6 separate regions of the Homo sapiens genome follow, and all the other regions are linked to region 5. Evidence: promoter capture Hi-C in human tissues and cell types (Jung and others, 2019). All regions are on one chromosome and are shown on one strand. Each heading gives the region's core, a stretch centred on a gene start or on the middle of the fragment in contact. The rest is flanking DNA. Distances are from core to core; before and after follow the strand shown.

Region 1 (3,096 bases), core at 1-2,500, 260 kb before region 5:
CATCCAACTCTCCTGGCCTACAGGAGGAACTTGTTTTCAGTGGTCAGGTAACGTGCCCAGGACTACACTGCTGTGCTGACAGGATCAGAATTCCAATCTTGGGTTTCCCCGAGTTTCCTGCCACCTGGCCCATGGGGATCAGGGCTGGAGGGAGAACGAGGATGGCTGAGGTTTAGGTGGCTTAAGGACCAGGAGACACGGGGAGGTGGTGACTTCCTGTTTCCCAACTGGGCAGACCACTGGTGGTGGCGGGCACAGCTGGAAGGAAACCAGGCTCGCCGAGCCACCGAAGCCCCAGCTTTCTCAACCAGGAAGCAAAGAACCTCCCCCACCTCACGCCGGGAGCCCTTTCTCTGAGAGGAGCTGGTTCCGAGCCGCTCTTCCAGGGAAATGGCCCGGCGGCGACAGAGCGGGAGGGAGGGGCCGCAGGCGCTGCGAGGACGCACAGCTTCCCAATGCGTGCCCCCGGCGGTTGGGAAGCCGCGCCGCGCAGACCAATCCGGCCCGAGGCGGAGGCCGGTTGGCTCCGGAACGCCTGGCCCGCGGGGCGGGCGGGGCAGCTGGGGAGGGAGGGAGAGGCGAGAGGCAGCTGGGGACAGGGCGGGGCGGCGGGGGCGGGGCGCCTGCCCGGAGGCCAAGCCCTCTCGGCCCCACCCCGCAGCAGCCCTGCCAGGGGCGCCGCCCCAGCCCCCCCCACGGCCGAACCCCGTGCCGGTTGGGGACCCTCCACGTGACTCGGTGATGCAGAACGGTTATGACCTTCAGCGTGTGTCTGTGAACGCAAGGGTCCCAGCAACAGTGCGGGTTTGCGCTCGGCCCTGCCCGTGGGTGCAGGGACGTGTGGGTGTGTGGGCATGTGTGGGTGTGTTGGGGAGGGTGCCCAGCGACATGTGACAAAGACGCCCGTCTCCGGGAGATGGTGAAGGGGCCCGCGAGCAGGCGCTTTGTCTGGCTGTCTGCAGAGTGAGGTTCGCGCCGCGGCGGCGGGCGCCCGTGCGGTGCAGGATGCCGGGGCGCCAGGATGGCCGGGGGCGCGCGCGCCTGTGCCAGGGTGAGTGCGCTGCGGCAGCGCCGGGGGACAGCGCGGAGGGCCCGCGCCGGCCCGGGCCTCGGGCGTGACTGGGCGCCACCCGTGGGCGCTGCAGCGGCCGCGTGTCCCCGTGACCTCAGGAGCCGGCCCGGGCCCGGGTGGATCCCCGCGCGCCCCTCCCCGTCCGCCCTCCACGTGCGTGTCCGCGGCGCGCGCGCCCGCCGGCGCGCACCCGCTCGCCTGTCGCCGCCGCCACCGCTAACCGCGCCGGGAAAAGGTGCCGGGAACCGAGCGAGCCGGGGCCGCGGGCCCGAGCGCCATGGGCCCGAGGGTGGGCGGCGGGCGGCCGGTCATCCCCGGGCCTCGTCCCCGCGGGAGAGCGGCCAGGAGTCGGCGGGGGCCGGCCGGGCTCGCAGGGAGGCCGGCCCGCGCCCCCTGAGCGACGGACACCAGGTGAGGGGGCCGCCGGGCGCAGCGCGGGGGCCGGCCAGGGAGGGGCCACGGACTCCACGGGAGGTTCGGGGGGCGCCTTCTCTGGCGGGGGAGGGTATGGCGGGGAGTGGGGAGGCGGCTGGCGATTCCTGGGGACGCCTGGGAAAGGAAGTTCCGGGACCCTCCCTGCTCTCGGTCCTCCTCCGCTTCCTGCCTCATGCCTCACCTTGTCCCCAGCGCCTGGACTCCCCCTTAACTGCTTGGGAAATGTGACCTTTGCTCTGGGGGGCCTGGCCCTGCAGGCCCCAACCTTCCCTCATCTCTGGCGGCCCTCTTGGGCCTCTGACCCAGCCCCTCCCCGGGCCAGGCTCACAGAAGCTGGCTTCTGGGACTGTCCTGGGCCCAAGTGGGCACCTGCGCCAGCCCCACCTGTGCCTGGGCTGTGGCCCCTTCCTACAGGGCGCTCACCATGGCCCCGCCGCTCCTGCTGCTGCTGCTGGCCAGTGGAGCGGCCGCCTGCCCGCTGCCCTGCGTCTGCCAGAACCTGTCCGAGTCGCTCAGCACCCTCTGTGCCCACCGAGGCCTGCTGTTTGTGCCGCCCAACGTGGACCGGCGCACAGTGGAGCTGCGGCTGGCTGACAACTTCATCCAGGCCCTGGGGCCCCCTGACTTCCGCAACATGACGGGACTGGTGGACCTGACACTGTCTCGCAATGCCATCACCCGCATTGGGGCCCGCGCCTTTGGGGACCTCGAGAGCCTGCGTTCCCTCCACCTTGACGGCAACAGGCTGGTGGAGCTGGGCACCGGGAGCCTCCGGGGCCCCGTCAATCTGCAGCACCTCATCCTCAGCGGCAACCAGCTGGGCCGCATCGCGCCGGGAGCCTTCGACGACTTCCTAGAGAGCCTGGAGGACCTGGACCTGTCCTACAACAACCTCCGGCAGGTGCCCTGGGCCGGCATCGGCGCCATGCCTGCCCTGCACACCCTCAACCTGGACCATAACCTTATTGACGCACTGCCCCCAGGCGCCTTCGCCCAGCTCGGTCAGCTCTCCCGCCTGGACCTCACCTCCAACCGCCTGGCCACGCTGGCTCCGGACCCGCTTTTCTCTCGTGGGCGTGATGCAGAGGCCTCTCCCGCCCCCCTGGTGCTGAGCTTTAGCGGGAACCCCCTGCACTGCAACTGTGAGCTGCTGTGGCTGCGGCGGCTGGCGCGGCCGGACGACCTGGAAACGTGCGCCTCCCCGCCCGGCCTGGCCGGCCGCTACTTCTGGGCAGTGCCCGAGGGCGAGTTCTCCTGTGAGCCGCCCCTCATTGCCCGCCACACGCAGCGCCTCTGGGTGCTGGAAGGCCAGCGGGCCACGCTGCGGTGCCGGGCCCTGGGTGACCCCGCGCCTACCATGCACTGGGTCGGTCCTGACGACCGGTTGGTTGGCAACTCCTCCCGAGCCCGGGCTTTCCCCAACGGGACCTTAGAGATTGGGGTGACCGGCGCTGGGGACGCTGGGGGCTACACCTGCATCGCCACCAACCCTGCTGGTGAGGCCACAGCCCGAGTAGAACTGCGGGTGCTGGCCTTGCCCCATGGTGGGAACAGCAGTGCCGAGGGGGGCCGCCCCGGGCCCTCGGACA
Region 2 (3,444 bases), core at 550-3,049, 450 kb before region 5:
CTGGATGCAGCTATGCGAGAGGAAGCCTTGTGCTCCACCATCCTGTTGGAAATAGCCCTATTGAGGACGGCAGCCAGAACAGTGCCATGCACTGACCCTGAGAGGGGAGCGGGTTAGTGTGGCAATATCACTTTAGTCAAATTCCTTCTGCCCAATGTCAAAGAGTCCTATCACTCCAGTTTCTAGCAGAAACAAAAGTGCTCAGGCTTTATACCTCCAACTGCTAGGAGACAGGCCGCATCCACTATCACCAATAGAGTCAGCAGATACCCAAAATGGCACTAAATCTCTAAAAGCATTTTGCCATCCCATTGTTTTCAGAGATTTAAATGCTCCTAATTGTTAGATGTTAGGGGCCACAATGCTAACTGTGCTTTGAACAGAAACACAGATTTCTGCCACAATTTATATCTCAAATGCATAGTTCCCTATAATTTAGACTAAAAGATTATAAATGACTTGGCTTTCAAATATACATGGTGACATTAAGCTATGTGACAGACACAAAGTATACTCCAATTGTGAAGTCAGAGTGACCATGACAGTCTAAAAAGGAGCCAATCCAGAGACCTAAAAGTAACATTTTTAACAAAAAAATTCAATTAAATTTGCACTTTACTTTTATAGATTCTGGGTCCATTTTTTGGAGAAACAAAACCCAGCAATTTTACCTTGATGTTTTTTAACTAAATCCAATCTTCATTCCTGCTTTTATTTAGAGGGTGGGAAATCAAGTTTATCTGTGGTAAAATCTACCTCTGTGTAGTTGTGAAAAGGATGCAGGTATCAATTTTTTTGTTGCGTTTGTTTGATTTTTGAGACGTAGTTTTGCTCTGTCGCCCAGGCTGGAGTGCAGTGGCGAAATCTCGGCTCACTGCAACCTCCACCTCGCGGGTTCAAGCAATTCCCTGCCTCAGCCTCCCGAGTAGCTGAGATTACAGGCACCTGCCACCATTGGTGTGGTTTTAAAGCAATTTTTGTATTTTTAGCAGAGATGGGGTTTCACCATCTTGGCCAGGCTAGTCTTGAACTCCTGACTTCGTGATCCACCCGCCTCAGCCCCCTCAAAGTGCTGGGATTACAGGCGTGACCACTGCACCCGGCCCAATTTTTTAACCTAGAACTAAAAAAATCTATAATAGGGGTGACGAGTTTAAAAAAATTTTTTCAAACAGTTTCTCCAAGCTGGGTGTGGTAGCTCATATCTGTAATCCCAGCACTTTGGGAGGCTGAGGTGAGCCAATCACCTGAGGCCAGAAGTTCGAGACCAGCCTGGCCAACATGGTGAAACCCCCTCTCTACTAAAAAAATACAAAACATTAGCTGGGCATGGTGGCACATGCCTGCAGTCCCAGCTACTTGGGAAGCTGAGGCACAAGAATCACTTGAACCCGGGAGGCGGAGGCTGCAGTGAGCTGAGATTGTGCCACTGCACTACAGCCTAGGCAATAGAGCAAGACTGTCTAAAAAAAAAAAAAAAAAAAAAAACCCACAAAAAAACCAAAACAACCAGTCCTTCCAACGGTTATAATTAGCCTTTTAATTTATTTTTATTAATTTTTTTGGGGGGGGGGGACAGATTCTTGCTCTGTCGCCCAGGCTGGAGTGCAGTGGCGCAGTCTCGGCTCACTGCAACTTCTGCCTCCTGGGCTCAAGCAATTCTCCTGCCTCAGCCTCCCGAGTAGCTGGGACTGCAGGCGCACGCTACCACACCTGGCTAATTTCTTCTATTTTTAGTGGAGACGAGGTTTCACCATGTTGGCCAGGCTGGTCTCGAACTCCTGACCTCAGGTGATCCGCCTGTCTCGGCCTCCCAAAGGGCTGGGATTACAGGCATGAGCCACCACATCCAGCCTAGCCTTTAAATTTAAATACCCTAAAGTTTTTATAGTAATTGAAAAAGACTATGCCTCTCTATTATTATACCTTAAGGAACCAGGGCAAAGAAAAATGAAAGATTAATTCTTCTACTCTACTACACTTGGACAAAGTAGGCCAAAAGCTTAAAATTTCCTGGGACTTCCAAAAGTTACTGAAGTTTGTTGCCAACATTTTCCAGAAAACCAGCCCTATAAGTGTTTTATTTTGAAAGCTGTAACAGAAAAGAGCATTAAAATGCTGAGAAGTGGGAAACTTGGGGTCTTAATTTCTGAGCGCCTATCAAGTGCCATGATCCAGAAAAGACTGGGGATGTAGCTAATACAGAGTAGTATTCTGACTTAATGCTTGTTTACATATAGGGAAAAAAAAAAAAGACACCTGAACTCTCACACATTCTTCCCAATTAAGCTGCCTGATTGTTATTTGGGAATAGCTTCTTTAGGTCTTCCAATACAAACTATGTGTCTAAGGAAATAAGTTGAGTTCACTGCTGGCTGTAAAAAGGAAACAGATCCTGAAAGAGTAAAGTAAACTCAGATTCCGCTACTTCCTTTTAGAAGTCATACAATGCAAAAAGCCTCAATGGCAGCCATTAACATATAGAAATAAAGGTTCAAAAGATGTTCAAGTGGCACTTTTTTGTTGGTTCATTTTTGAGACTAAGTCTTGCTCTGCTGCCCAGGCTAGAGTGCGGTGGCACGGTCTTGACTCACTGCAACCTCCGCCTCTGGGTTCAAGTGATTCTCCTGCCTCAGCCTCCTGAGTAGCCGGGATTACAGGTGTGTGCCACCATACCTAGCTAATTTTTGTATTTTTAGTAGAGACAGGGTTTCACCATGTTGACCAGGCTAGTCTTGAACTCCTGACCTTAGGTGATCCACCCCCGCCTCGGCCTTCCAGAGTGCTGGGATTACAGGAGTGAGCCACCTCACCCGGGCTCAAGTGGCCCTTTTAAGAGGCCACCTTCATTAGTAGACAACTGAAAATAACTTAAATTGAAACGTGTCAAACTGGTATCCAGACTGTATTTTCTGTAAAACTACAACTTACTATCCAGTGCTAAGCTTGCTCTTGTCATCTGGGAGAAAAAAAACCAGAGCTAGTTATAAAAACGTCTCTATAACTAGGAGGAGAGTGCTATCTCCAGAGGAGCCAAGTTAAGAACATGAAAACCAAATACAGGATTTTTCTTTTCCAATTCATTTTAGTGTTTGCACTTTCTAAGGAAGTGATGTTTTTAAAAATCTTATGGATCCACTGCATTATTCAGATACATCCTAAAGTAATTATACCTGCCTTATTAAAACACATATTCATCCTAAGCCAACTCCCCCCAATTAACTGATTTTTTTTTCTTTTTTTTTTTTTTTTATTAACTTCAGGTAGCTTTTCTTTTTCTTTTCTTTCTTTTTTTTTTTTGAGATGGAGTCTTGCTCTGTCCCCCAGGCTGGAGTACAGTGGCATGATCTCGGCTCACTGCAAGCTCTGCCTCCTGGGTTCACGCTATTCTCCTGCCTCAGCTTCCCGAGTAGTGGGGACTACAAGGCGCCTGCCACCATGGCC
Region 3 (3,024 bases), core at 67-2,566, 480 kb before region 5:
TAAAATAAAACAAAAAAACCTTTGCTGCTCCAGTTTTTTCTCAGGGTGGGGTCGGGGTATACTTTAAATCTCCATGGTCTCAGAAAGGTTTCTTCATCGCGGACCCTGGGAGGCTGGTTCCCAGAGGGAACTTGTCCTCAGCGTCTCCTGGACAGTGCAGCCTCCTGCCGGGCCTACTTCTGGAAGGCCATTACAGAGGTCCTTTCACCACCTGTGAGAGGTTTGATTTTGGGGGAGCTCCGGGACTCTCAAGGCTACAGTGTGGACTGCTGGCCCAAGGAGAAGGTTGGTTTCCTGAAGTGGTGGGTGGTGGGTTGGGGGGGGTCTTCGTTGTTTTTCTTCCCTGGCATGTGCCTGCATAAGCTATTTCCACAGCGTCCTGGCCGCGAGGGGGGGTGGTGCTTGGGAGGTTAGAGGGAGACACCTAGAGTGAACGGCAAAATGGAGCGCGGAATACTGTCTGGCTGTGCACGTGGAGGTGGCGAAATGTGGAAGCTTAACGAAGTTGGCGCCATGAAGCTAAAGACTGCTACCCCGGGGCTCTAGCTCGCTCCGCCTAATGGCGGGCCGCACCCCGCCGGCGAAGCCCACGTTTGTAGGTCCGCCCTCACGCTGATCTCTTGCCCAATCAGCGAGTTCGGCTTCGCGAGGTTGGTGCCCATTGGCTTTCGCATAAAAGCTCCGAGGTTACAGACGTTTCCACCTCTTGCCGGCCTCTTAGGTAATTGGCGTCCGTGGTAACCAATCAGGAAGAGGATCTGAGGGAACGCCGGCCTTTTACTTTCTTGAGTGGCCAATCCGGTTGTAGGCTCACCTCCCCCTTCTACTCAGAGCACTGCTGCGGCCGCCGCCATTTTAGCGTTTTGTCAGAAGCGTCCGCGCCGCGAGGAGGAGGCCCTGCTGGTTTCTGTGCGGGTGAGACTCCGAGCCTTTCCACTGCCTTTCTTGTACTGTGTTAAATCTTCTCTCACTCCCTTGGGCTTCGGGGGTGTCCTGGTAGGTCCGCAGTCTCCACACCCGTCACTGAGAGCCGACCTCGGTCCTCGGCATTGCGCGGTAAGCCGGGAGCAGCCCTTCCCCCACCGCCCCCTGAGAATACCTTGCTTTTTTTCGCCCACCCTGTCCCGCGCCCGACATGGCTGCTCTTGGAGCCTCGAGATTTCCACTGGGATAACCCCCTTTCCCTTATATCTGACAGTTACATTCTCGTTTCGGGAATTTCTCGGGCCGTGAGACATCGTCTGGTTAATGAATCTGAAGCTCTTTTCCGCGGCCGCGCATTTCAGTGTTCGGCAGGAGCTAGGACGGTGCCCCGAGAGAGGCGTTCACCACTCCAGTATTTCCTTTATCTCCCACTCCTCGCTGTCTGATCCGAGTCGCGCGTTCATTACTTCCAAAGGAAACTCAAATGTAGCTATTACAAGGCCCATTTTCCCGGAAATGATGGCTGCTTTGGTTCCTACGTGAGGAAAAGCCTGTTGATAATTTCAGGCAGGCAGTCAGCAAGCCTAGTAGACTTTTGTTTTCTGTTGTCCTCCTAGTGGATAGAAAAGCCTAGTACCCCCATTTCTTCATATGCTGTCTTTCATGCCCATTTCTGTTGGAAGGTATCGGTTCTTACCAAACCCTTTGTCTACTAAGGACCTCCCTATTGCAGACGTCTTCTTATTCTTACAGGTTCATGGCGGCTACTATAGCAGGCCTTAGTTCACTCCCACTTCCATTTGATTATTGTGTGGAGGTGTGTGTGCAGGCGTGTGAGAGAGAAAACTGGAAATATACATTAGAGTGAAAGTCGTTGTCTTTTGTGAACGGATGTGGGCCTGAGGTCTTTTGTCAGATGTCTTGTTTTTCTCTCCCAGGCTCTTGTCAGGATGGTGAAGCTGTTCATCGGAAACCTGCCCCGGGAGGCTACAGAGCAGGAGATTCGCTCACTCTTCGAGCAGTATGGGAAGGTGCTGGAATGTGACATCATTAAGAATTACGGCTTTGTGCACATAGAAGACAAGACGGCAGCTGAGGATGCCATACGCAACCTGCACCATTACAAGCTTCATGGGGTGAACATCAACGTGGAAGCCAGCAAGAATAAGAGCAAAACCTCAACAAAGTTGCATGTGGGCAACATCAGTCCCACCTGCACCAATAAGGAGCTTCGAGCCAAGTTTGAGGAGTATGGTCCGGTCATCGAATGTGACATCGTGAAAGATTATGCCTTCGTACACATGGAGCGGGCAGAGGATGCAGTGGAGGCCATCAGGGGCCTTGATAACACAGAGTTTCAAGGTGAACCACCCTCTTTGGGTAGAGGGCTGAACACAAGGCTGTGTGCAGAAAATGGTTGGATAAGTAAAAGGAGAGGTTTGGTAAAGATAACAGCTGTTGGCTGGCTGGTGATGAAGAAATAAGTGTGGGTGATGGACTTCTTATGATGTAGAATGCATGGGACTTAGGGGCTTTACCTTAGGCAAATGTCTCCTGGAGAAAAGCCACTCACCTTTTATTTGGAGCCCCTACGGCTTTTGTGCTTATCAGTGCAGAAACCCTTTTCTTTGAAGGCTTTCTGAGTTACTGGGCCTTTTTTATTTTTTATTTTTTTGTAGTAGAGCACAGTTCAGAGTTCCTCACTCTGAATTTATTGCCCTCAGCACAGGATCAGAATTCTGCATTTTACGTGAAGAACCTCTCAAAAACATGTCAAGCGACACTTATAGGACCAGAATCCTTGTTAAGCTGTCCTACCTTACACAAACTCTTTAAAGGGTTACAGCTCTTGTTGCTTTTATATTATACCTGTACCAAGGGATTGTATTTTGAGTTTAAGGCCACTCTAGAATTACAAGGCTGATTTTAGGACTTCCTGGGGAGGAGGCACTGGGGTTTTAGGGGCGGTAATGACTGTCTTTTCATTGGTTTGGGGGGCTGGACTTTATAAGATTTTGGTGAATAGAGCACTTAGATTTGTGTTATCTTGGAGTCTTAACCAAATGAATCTTTTGTGCCTGGAGGGCAGCATGGGTGATA
Region 4 (3,072 bases), core at 205-2,704, 360 kb after region 5:
CTGTATGTGACTGGTACTGTTATTTCACTTAGCATATTGATGCTTTTTTTTTTTTTTTGAGATGGGGTCTCACTCTATCACCCAGGCTGGAGTGCAGTGGTGCGATCTTGGCTCACTACAACCTCCATCTCCTGGGCTCAAGCAATCCTCCAGCCTCAGCCTGCTGAGTAGCTGGGACCACAGGCGTGCACCACCACACCACCTAATTTTTTGTATTTTTGGTGAAGATGGTATTTTGCCATGTTGTCCAGGCTGGTCTTGAACTTGTGAGCTCAAGGAGATCCAGGAGATCCACTTGCCTTGGCCTCCCAAAGTGCTGGTATTAGAGGCATAAGCCACCACACCTGCCCCATACTGATGCATTTTTACATGACATTAGTGAATTCAATTAGCCTAGTATTTTATTTAGAATGTTTCATATCAGCTGGGCGCTGTGGCTCACGCCTGTAATCCCAGCACTTTGGGAGGCCGAGGTGGGCGGATCACGAGGTCCGGAGATTGAGACCATCCTGGCTAACACGGTGAAACCCTGTCTCTACTAAAAATACAAAAAATTAGCCGGGCATGGTGGCGGGCGCCTGTAGTCCCAGCTGCTCGGGAGGCTGAGGCAGGAGAATGGCGTGAACCCGGGAGGCAGAGCTTGCAGTGAGCTGAAATTGTGCCACTGCACTCCAGCGTGGGTGACAGAGCGAGACTCCGTCTCAAAAAAAGAAAAACAAAAGTTGTTTTAGCCCCAAAGTACCTCATTTCTCTTTTCTTTTAATTTAATTTTTTTTTTTTGTTTTGTTTTGAGACAGCATCTCGCTCTGTCGGCTAGCCTGGAGTGCAGTGGCACGAACACGGCCCACTGCAGCCTCGAACTCCTGGGCTCAAGCGATCCTCTCGCCTCGGCCTCCCAAAGTGGTGGGGTTACAGGGCCACCGCGCCCGGCGCTAAAGTACCTCATTTCTATCATTCATCGATTATTCCCTAATATTAATTGGGCACAACTATGACTCATTTCCGACCCCGCAATGGGCTCTCTTGGTCTCCTTCTCCACCTTTCTTTCCCTCTTCCTCTTTTTATTTTTTGAAAGAGGAAGATCCAGGATGCAAGAGTCCCGACAATCATACTAGATATGCGAAAGAGAAAAAGCCGGAAGAAAATACACAAAAATCATAACACTTTGAGGGTGTGGCTTACGGGTGTTTTTTTTTTTTTTCATTTTCCTAACTCTGCAGTGCTGTTATATTCCATCCACAACTTCAAACAAAGTGCCACACGGCCGCAGTCCCAATCAATTCAATGACAATTGTTAGGGACGTCCTCGTCCCGCCCGGCCCGCGGACCCCGGCCCTTCCTCCTTGACAGGCTGGGGTCCAGCCCCGAGACATTCCTAGGCTCCGCCCCCGAGCAGACGCGCGCGCTCAGCCCCAGCGCAGAGAACCAATCACCATCCGTTTCCACGCTCAGTCCCTTTTGGCTTCTGCCCTCAACCAAAATGGCGCTAGCTCGGAAGCTGCCGAGGTGCTAGGAGTTGCCGAAGCAAGTCCGGAAGCTACCGAGCGAGTCCGGAAGTTGCCGAAAGGGAGCAGCGGGGAAGGAGGATGGCGGATATCATCGCAAGACTCCGGGAGGACGGGATCCAAAAACGTGTGATACAGGAAGGCCGAGGAGAGCTCCCGGACTTTCAAGATGGGACCAAGGTTCGTGTCTACCCTACCCTTCTCCCCCTCTGCGGCGTGGTGCGCATGCGAGGCGGGAGGAGGCCTTAGGCGAGAGGTTGCGCATGCCCAGAGGGCAGCGTCCACTGCCCCTACCGCTCACATGCAGAACTCGACGCTGATTGGGCTGAATTTAAGTAGGGGGTGAATTCGGGCCTGTCTGCCCCGCCCCCTGGCTCGGCCTTGTAGCAGCATTGGTGGGGGAGGCCGTCAGTCATCACAAGCGGGTTGGGGTTGGGGGTTGATCTCAGTGCTTGGGCAGACCCCACGCTGGAGGAAACCCAGGGCCGGGAGTGGTCCTCGGGTATCTGGGTTTCAAGGCTCATGATCCTTTGTAGATGGAAGGGCCTTCTGAAAACACTTAGACCAACTGCCGCTGTTTAGAGTGGAAAACCAAGACCCTGGGACGTGCAAAGCCGGAGAACGGGCCCAGAGGTCAGGTCTCCCAGACAGGGACTCTTTAGCAGCCTTCCTGCTGCACTAGGGGCTTGTTGGGACAGATGAGGGTTGGGAAGTAAAGAACCTCCCACTTTTCTCCTTTTTGCCAGGCCCCCAGATCCAGCCCCTCTGCCCGCTTCTCCCCCAACCTACAACTCCAGGCTTCCCTGCTTCTCCTGTAGTTGCCTCCTCCCGGAGTGCTTTTCCCAGCTGCCACTTGTTTGCAGAGTAGGGAACCTCCCAGGGGCAGCCCCTGTGCCCAGCAGAGCAGTCAGGCAGGACATGCACATTGAGCAAATGAGCACATGCCCCCTGGCCAGCACCGTGCCGAATCGGGCAGCTAAGCATCCTAGCCCAGTGCAGTATAAGTGCCCTGAGAGCAGAGGGGAGCTGCATGGCTGGAGTGATCCGCTGTATGAAAAGATATCTTCTCTAAGAAGAGACAGGATGTGTGGTGTGGGTTCATGCCCCCATGTGCTGGGGGGTTGGTGGCGTTGGAAGAAGGGGCTGGCAAGGGGGATCCTGGATGGAACAGACATCAGAAGGAGAGATGTGAACAATGGCACCCCAAGATCAGAAACAGGTGGTGTTAAATAACCAATCGCCAGCACTGATTGAGTGCTCACTATTCGAACATTGTGCTACATGCTTCACACGTTTATTTCCTACAATGTGAGATAGGTACTGTTGTTGATTCCGTTTTACCGATGTGGAAACTGACTTCAGAGATGCAGCATGGTGCGGCAGTTAAGAGCGTGGGCTCCTCTAACCATATCCTGTCGAGAGTTCAATCTCCAAACCTCTTTTCTCTGCACCCACCCCCAGTGTTATCTCTAAAAACTCTCCCTGCCCGGATTACTCCCAGATGCAGCTCTCCAGTCATTAACTGTCTCTTAAACCTGATATATAGCTCCCTACTCACCATATCCA
Region 5 (3,189 bases), core at 71-2,570:
GCGGCTGCTGCCCCGTCGCTGACCCCCGCGCGAAGCTGCGCGCACCAACAGGAGACATCTTCCCGGCCGGGCCTCCCGCGCCCGCCACGGCCCAGGGCGGCAGGGTCGGGCCGGGGGCCGGGGGCGGCCCGCGCACCCCTCCGTGGGGGGCGCCCCGACTCGCCGGGGGCGGGGTCACGTCCCACCCGGGCCGCCGGGGGCACCGGCGCGGCGGAAAGCTGAGCGTGGCCGAGGAGCGGGGGCTTCCTGGGCCACCTCGCCGGGCGCCTCCGGCCGGCGGTGGGCGCGCCGGCCGCCACCGCCCCCGGGCCGTCGCGGAGACCGCTTCTGCGCCTGGTACCTGTGGACGCCCTTGTTAAGCGCCTGCAGCACCCCCGGGGAGCCGAGCCCAGGACAGACATGCTACTCCTGTTTCCTGCCCCTTCGGAGCGACGAGCAGTGGGTGAGGCGGGGCCAGGCCGCTGCACCGAGGAGCCCCCGGGCCCAGGGCAGACGGGCCCCGTGGCGGCGGCGCCGGGGCCTGCCCGGGAATGGCGGGCAAGCCGGCCTCGGCCCACCGGCCGGCACGCGAAGGGAGGGCAGCCGGCGGCCATGCGCCCCTTCCCTGCGCCCTCTCGCCCTGGGCAGGCCTGAGCCGGGAGCCCAGGTCCCGCGGGCCCAGCCCGGCGGCTTGACCCCGGGAGACCCTGCTTTGAGGCGGGTATCGGTTGCCCTGGCCCAGGCCTCCCGGCCCTCAGGTTGTGTGACTGTGACGGGCAGCCTGGGGCCAAAGGCGGTTGAAGGGGAAGGGGACGCAGATCTCCCACTGCTTGGGGGGGGTGATGTGCTTTGTGGGGGGTCGGGGGTCACCACCCTCCCAGGGGGGTGGGGGAGGGCGGCCAGCACAGCTGGCCGCGAGGGGCGGGGTCGCAGAGGCGAAGTGTGTGTGAGGGTGTGTGGGGGGAGGGCGCGCGGAGGAGGATCGGTGCCCTGCGCGCAGGCGCGAGCAGCCAGCCAGGCCCGAGCCCTGGAAGAACGCCGACGGGGAGCGGGGGCGGCGGGCTGGCGGGAGGGAGGGAGGGCGGGCGGCCTGACGCGAGGGGGCGCAGGGAGCCGCGTCGGCGTCGCGGGGCGCGGGCGATTCGAGGCCGACGCATCCGCGCGTGCGCGCGCCGGCGGTGTGTCCGCGTTAGAGGGGAGTGACGCGTGCGCGTTCACGCGCGCCCGGGAGAGCGGTAAGAAGCGCAGGGAGGCCTGAAGGGGGTGGGGGGGTGGAGAGGCGAGCTGGAGGAGGGGTGGGGAGGTGGCGCCTGCGCAGTGCGCCTCGGAGGAGCTGTGTGTATGTGAGAGTCTGACGGGTTCAAAATGGCGGCGGCTGCTTCAGCGGCTCCTCCTGTGTGAGGGAAACAACACCCCTCCCCGGCAGCGGCGGCGGCGGCGGCGGCTCTCGGAGCACCTTCCCAGCGGCTGGGCCCGTGGCCGCTCTGTCTTTCCTGGGCAGGGGACGCTCCGGGAGGAGGGGCAACGCCAGGGGGCCCATCCCCCGGAATCCCTCTTCTGCGACTGGGGAGTAGCCGGGGGGCTCGTCCCGCAGCGCGGAGCCAGACCTGAGGGGGAGACGCGAGGGGAGCCAGGGCCCCCATCCCGGCGCGCCGCGCCGCTCCCGCCCTGTCCGCCCCCCGGGGCCGGGGCCCGCGTTCCGGGGGGCCGGGGCGGCGCGGGGAGCCTCGGGCCGGCCGGTCTCAGCTGATCGGCCGCTGCTCCCGCAGGCGACCAGCCCCTGCTGGCCGAGGGCACGGCGAGGAGGGCGCTCCCTGCGGCCGGGGCCGGCCCGGGGCTCGGGCCCGGGCTGCTGACCGCTGGCCTGGGGGAGGCGGGGGCGCCCCGGGCTCGGCGCCGAGGGGTCGCGCTCCTCTCTCCTGACGCCTCCGACTCCCGGTCTCCAAAGCCAGAAGAGAAGGTTTGATTCAGCAACTGTTTGCTCCCTTTTCCTGGTCGCTCTGACCCTCTCTGGATACTGGGTTGATCCACGGAAAAACCGAAGACGACGTTTGGGATTTAATTATTCCTCTCAGCTTTGGAATCTTTTACTTCTCACTTGGACAAGAACTCAAGAGCAGAATCTCCGGTGAGTTTCCCCCTCCCCCCCCTCATTTGGAAGTTTGGTTGACTGTGTTATCCAAAGACTGAATGCAAAGTTTCTATCTCTTTTTCCGATGGGTGAACCATTGAAACGCCTTTTCCTGGGGGAGCCCAGCGAGATTCGCCCTTTTTCCTCTCCGGCCCTGGCTGCTCCATGCCCAGGCGGTCGTCGCCCAGGGGGTGCAAGCACGGTTTCCCTCCCGACTTCGGGCCAGGGCTTCCTCCGGGAGGGCTCTGCCTCTAACTGCTCTGCAAACTGTGTCATCGGGTCCTCTGGTCTCGTAGCAGTTTTGAAAGGATGCTGTTAACGTGGCTGTAATGTAGTGACAAAAACGGGGGGAACCTGTGTTCTCAATGGAAGCCATTATCCACGAGAATATTTAGAAAAAAGAAAACCCTTTCTTGGTATTACGGATTGACCGTCGCGCCGGCCGGTCTTTTATTTAATTTTTGGACAAGATGTATTTTCCTTGTATCCTTAGATGCAATCGTTTATTTTATTACTTTATCCAAAAAGATCAGATGGAATTTTGGTCCTTGATTTGCACCTCTGAAATTTGTTTCAGAGTTGTGCACATCTTGTGTTGGGGTGGAGGGTAGATTTGGGAATGATAAGATCCGGGGAGTCTAGAAAGGAAGGCGACGATTGTGCACGGCCTTACAGGAGGGGTATGGGAAATTGTTTTGGGGTCATTTAAATCCTAATTTTTTGTCCTCTTTTTACATAGTCAGTTTGCCCTTCTTTCCTTTAGTTTCTGATTACCGGTGAGAGAGAACTAATTTGGTTAGGATCTGGATTAGTTCAGTGGTGCTTCACCTGGTCAGCTCTCTGGAGATAAAAGTCCTGGGCTTTTTTTTTTTCTTGCTGATGCTGCCATGAAGGAGATCCTTGCTAGTTGTAATCCTGTGGGGAGAAACTGGTGGTGTGGCCCTTCCACAAGGAACTGAAACCAACATCTCGTTTCGTCTAGGCCTCCGACAGTTGTAATGTGATTAATGTTGAACATGACATGGAACCACTTGCCCAAGAGCAGAAAGGTCCCAAACTCATGAAGAGGAACCTGATTT
Region 6 (3,301 bases), core at 750-3,249, 270 kb after region 5:
TATCCAAATGTGTACAATTATTATGTATCAATTCAACTCATTTGAAAGTGGGTCTGGAGAGCAAGGGTGGCAGAGATAAATATATCTTCTGCACTACCACAGGACCTGAGGGGCAAGGCACGGGCAGGCCCTGCAGGAATACAGGGATGCCCTGGGCCCTTCCAAGAACTACCAGAGCCTTGGTACTGTGGGGAGAGTAGGGGTCAGTGAGTTTCTCCAGGACTCCCTTACATTTTACACACGTGGACCCGGAAGCCCAGGGGAAGGGGAATACCTTCCAGCTGATGCATCCCCACCTGGCACACAGTCTGGTTTTTTTTTTTGAGATGGAGTCTCACTCTGTTGCCAGGCTAGAGTGCAGTGGCGCGATCTCGGCTCACTGCAACCTCCGCCTCCGGGTTCAAGCAATTCTCCTGCCTCAGCCTCCAGAGTAGCTGGGACTACAGGCGCGTGACAACATGCCCGGCTACTTTTTGTACTTTTAGTAGAGACGGGGTTTCACCATGTTGGCCAGAATGGTCTGGATCTCTTGACCTCGTGATCCGCCCGCCTCGGCCTCCCAAAGTGGTAGGATTACAGGCGTAAGCCACCGTACCCGGCCAGTCTGGGGTCTTTTAAAAATACAGACCCGGGGCTGGGCGCGGTGGCCCATGCCTGTAATCCCAGCACTTTGGGAGACCGAGGCGGGCGGATCACTTGAGGTCAGGAGTTCGAGACCAGCCTGGCCAACATGGTGAAACCCGTCTCTACTAAAAGTACAAAAATTAGCCAGGCGTTGTGGCAGGCGCCTGTAATCCCAGCTACTTGGGAGGCTGAAGCAGGAGAATCGCTTGAACCTGGGAGGCGTGATCGTGCCACTGTACTCCAGCCTGGGCGACAGAGCGAGGCTCTATCTCAAAACAAACAAACAAAAAAACCCCACACACACACACAAAAAACAAAAAACAGGCCGGTGCAGTAGCTCACTCCACTTTGAGAGGCCAAGGCGGAAAGACAGCTTGAACCCCACAGTTGAGACCGGCCTGGGCAACATGGCAAGACTCCGTCTCTACCCAAAAAAAAAAAAAAAAAAAAAGGGCCGGGCGTGGTGGGTGTGCCTGTGGTCCCAGATACTCAGGAGACTGAGATGGGAGGATCCCTTGAGCCCAGGAGTTCCAGGCGGCAGTGAGCCGTGTTCGCGCCACTGCACTCCAGCCTGGGTGACAGAGCAAGAATATGTCTCAAAAAACAAACAAACAAAAAAAGGCACATAACCACGATCTACCCTCGTAAAACGTTTCCAGAGCGTCCCAGCGGTGCCCCTCATCATCTGGCGGCCCCTACGCCTCTCTGAGACTCACAGACCTACTCCCCTCTCCAGGGGGCGGAGCCCACACCGCTGAGCATTTACTCTTGTTCTTCCCTCTGCCAGGGGCACCGTTCTACCCCTTTCTGCCTGGAGAAACTGCCGTTTTTCCTTAAAGGATCCTCGAAGCCGGAAGGAGCAGCCACCTCCCACTCCCGGCTGCTGCAAGCAAGCTGCTTTGACTTCTTTCTAGAGTTGGGGATTGCTGCTGGAGTCCGAGTCTCAGGCCCAGAGTGGGTGCGATGGTCTTGCTTGCACCCTGTATCCCCCGGCAGACGCCCGGGAACTCTACTAAGTGGGTGACCCCAGAGAGCTCGCCCCCACACTCCGACTCCGAGTCCAGCACTCGGTCCACTGCACAGGGACCTCGCGCCCCACAGCTGCGTCCTCTCTGACCTTCGCAATCCGGTGCGCGGCCCGCGGAACGCCCCGATCTCCAGGGGCACGGAAGGCCGAGGCGTGCCGGGGGAGCCAGGAGCAGCTGGCTGGCGGGCGCCGCGGGCCTCCCCGGTCACGTGACACCCCGGACAACGTGCGCCGTCACGTGACGGCAGAGCCTGTGAGCGTTTTTCTCACGTGACGGAGGCGCCTGCACGTGGACCAATGGGGAGGCGGGGGCGGGGCCGGCAGGGGCGGTGCGCGGGAAGGGACCCCGGACCCGGAGGTCGCGGAGAGCTGGGCAGTGTTGGCCGCTGGCGGAGCGCTGGGGCAGCATGAAGTGCCTGGTCACGGGCGGCAACGTGAAGGGTGAGTGCAGGTCGGCCTGGCAGCGGCGGTGCAGCAGCCGCGGAGCCGCCAGCCTAACCCCCTTCCGCTCTTCTCCCCGCAGTGCTCGGCAAGGCCGTCCACTCCCTGTCCCGCATCGGGGACGAGCTCTACCTGGAACCCTTGGAGGACGGGGTGAGGGGCTAGGGTGTGGGGGGCGGGTGGGACTCCAGCCGGGAGCGGGTAACCCGGACTAGAGTCTCGCCCCCACTAGGCGGGATGACCGCTGGCAGATTTGTCGGCAAAGTTTCAGTTTCTTAGTCTGGCGGCTGTCATCTTCCCAGGCCGGTGTGTGAATTGAGGAAAGCTGTCCTGCGAGCTCCCAGGGGGTGACGTGCACTTAGAGAAACTCGGGGAAGGCCTGGGTGTGCGACCCCTCCTCTGCGGCAGCAGCGCCGGGGCCGACTCTGAAGGCTTCCATGGGGAAAGGAGGGTTTTTCAGCAGGTGGTGGCGGAGCGGGAGGACGATAGGGCAAGTGTGTGAGCAGAAGCAGCCAGAGGGCTGGGTCTGTGGCTGCCCCCTGACCACGTCCCTCTCCCTGCTCTTCGTGGCCCAGCTCTCCCTCCGGACGGTGAACTCCTCCCGCTCTGCCTATGCCTGCTTTCTCTTTGCCCCGCTCTTCTTCCAGCAATACCAGGCAGCCACCCCTGGTCAGGACCTGCTGCGCTGTAAGATCCTGATGAAGGTGAGGCCCTTCCCTCAGCAGTGGCACTACTCCACCCCAGGAATCTCCACCAGCTGTGCCTCTGCCCTGGGGTACTCAGTAGATGCTAAGTGGGGAGAGAGACACGTGCAAGCCCAATCCATGCAAAACACAGGGAGGGCCATGGTAAAAGCATCACAGCGGGGACCTGAGAGGGTGGTGACGCTCAAGTTCGTCAAGAAAGGTAAGCACGTCTTTTGGCCGGGCGCGGTGGCTCACGCCTGTAATCCCAGCACTTTGGGAGGCCGAGGCAGGCGGATCACGAGGTCAGGAGTTCGAGACCAGCCTGGCCAACATGGCGAAACCCCGTCTCTACTAAAAATACAAAAATTAGCTGGGCGTGGTGGCACGCGCCTGTAATCCCAGCTACTCGGGAGGCTGAGGCAGGAGAATTGCTTGAATCCGGGAGGTGGAGGTTGCAGTGAGCTGAGATCGCACCACTGCACTCCAGCCTGGGTGACAGAGCGAGACTCCATCTCAAAAAAAA

Evidence for each region. The method cuts DNA at HindIII sites, captures the fragments that hold promoters and counts their contacts. A contact is called where the count stands out against the background at its distance.
Region 1: the fragment with the promoter of LRFN4 here is called in contact with the fragment with the promoter of KDM2A in region 5 in 1 of the 25 tissues and cell types used here (dorsolateral prefrontal cortex).
Region 2: a contact is called between a fragment that was not itself captured here and the fragment with the promoter of KDM2A in region 5, in 2 of the 25 tissues and cell types used here (dorsolateral prefrontal cortex and hippocampus).
Region 3: a fragment that was not itself captured here is called in contact with the fragment with the promoter of KDM2A in region 5 in 1 of the 25 tissues and cell types used here (dorsolateral prefrontal cortex).
Region 4: a contact is called between the fragment with the promoter of AIP here and the fragment with the promoter of KDM2A in region 5, in 5 of the 25 tissues and cell types used here (dorsolateral prefrontal cortex, heart left ventricle, hippocampus and 2 more).
Region 6: the fragment with the promoter of RAD9A here is called in contact with the fragment with the promoter of KDM2A in region 5 in 1 of the 25 tissues and cell types used here (dorsolateral prefrontal cortex).

What each region holds. Positions count from the first base shown.
Region 1 is chr11:66,855,814-66,858,909 of GRCh38, forward strand. It overlaps LRFN4 (leucine rich repeat and fibronectin type III domain containing 4), which reads left to right and starts at 1,251. Exons shown (of 2, transcript NM_024036.5): 1 at 1,251-3,096. The coding sequence starts at 1,932. All of the region lies in intron 12 of PC (pyruvate carboxylase), which reads right to left. RefSeq lists silencers at 337-866, 1,027-1,136. The HindIII fragment of the contact is 20,544 bases long and covers 1-3,096 here.
Region 2 is chr11:66,670,942-66,674,385 of GRCh38, forward strand. All of the region lies in intron 2 of RBM4B (RNA binding motif protein 4B), which reads right to left. Among named protein-coding and RNA genes, the nearest start is that of RBM4B, 5.2 kb to the right of the region's middle. The HindIII fragment of the contact is 6,507 bases long and covers 1-3,444 here.
Region 3 is chr11:66,637,838-66,640,861 of GRCh38, forward strand. The region is part of intron 1 of RBM14-RBM4 (RBM14-RBM4 readthrough); the gene reads left to right. It overlaps RBM4 (RNA binding motif protein 4), which reads left to right and starts at 866. Exons shown (of 4, transcript NM_002896.4): 1 at 866-915; 2 at 1,863-2,286. The coding sequence starts at 1,875. RefSeq lists enhancers at 317-1,030, 795-1,164, 1,031-1,742. The HindIII fragment of the contact is 5,623 bases long and covers 1-3,024 here.
Region 4 is chr11:67,481,572-67,484,643 of GRCh38, forward strand. AIP (AHR interacting HSP90 co-chaperone) reads left to right here and starts at 1,455. Exons shown (of 6, transcript NM_003977.4): 1 at 1,455-1,686. The coding sequence starts at 1,588. RefSeq lists an enhancer at 1,297-1,356. The HindIII fragment of the contact is 17,225 bases long and covers 957-3,072 here.
Region 5 is chr11:67,117,943-67,121,131 of GRCh38, forward strand. It overlaps KDM2A (lysine demethylase 2A), which reads left to right and starts at 1,321. Exons shown (of 21, transcript NM_012308.3): 1 at 1,321-2,107. It overlaps LOC107984341 (a long non-coding RNA gene), which reads right to left and starts at 406. Exons shown (of 2, transcript NR_160735.1): 1 at 1-406. RefSeq lists silencers at 228-277, 418-697, 878-1,317, 1,458-1,527, 1,708-1,847 and 1 more and an enhancer at 758-807. The HindIII fragment of the contact is 11,710 bases long and covers 1-3,189 here.
Region 6 is chr11:67,389,987-67,393,287 of GRCh38, forward strand. It overlaps RAD9A (RAD9 checkpoint clamp component A), which reads left to right and starts at 2,000. Exons shown (of 11, transcript NM_004584.3): 1 at 2,000-2,092; 2 at 2,175-2,245; 3 at 2,668-2,796. The coding sequence starts at 2,059. It overlaps LOC100130987 (a long non-coding RNA gene), which reads left to right. Exons shown (of 4, transcript NR_024469.1): 4 at 1,412-1,701. RefSeq lists enhancers at 1,167-2,082, 2,117-2,621 and a silencer at 1,847-2,216. The HindIII fragment of the contact is 15,866 bases long and covers 1-3,301 here.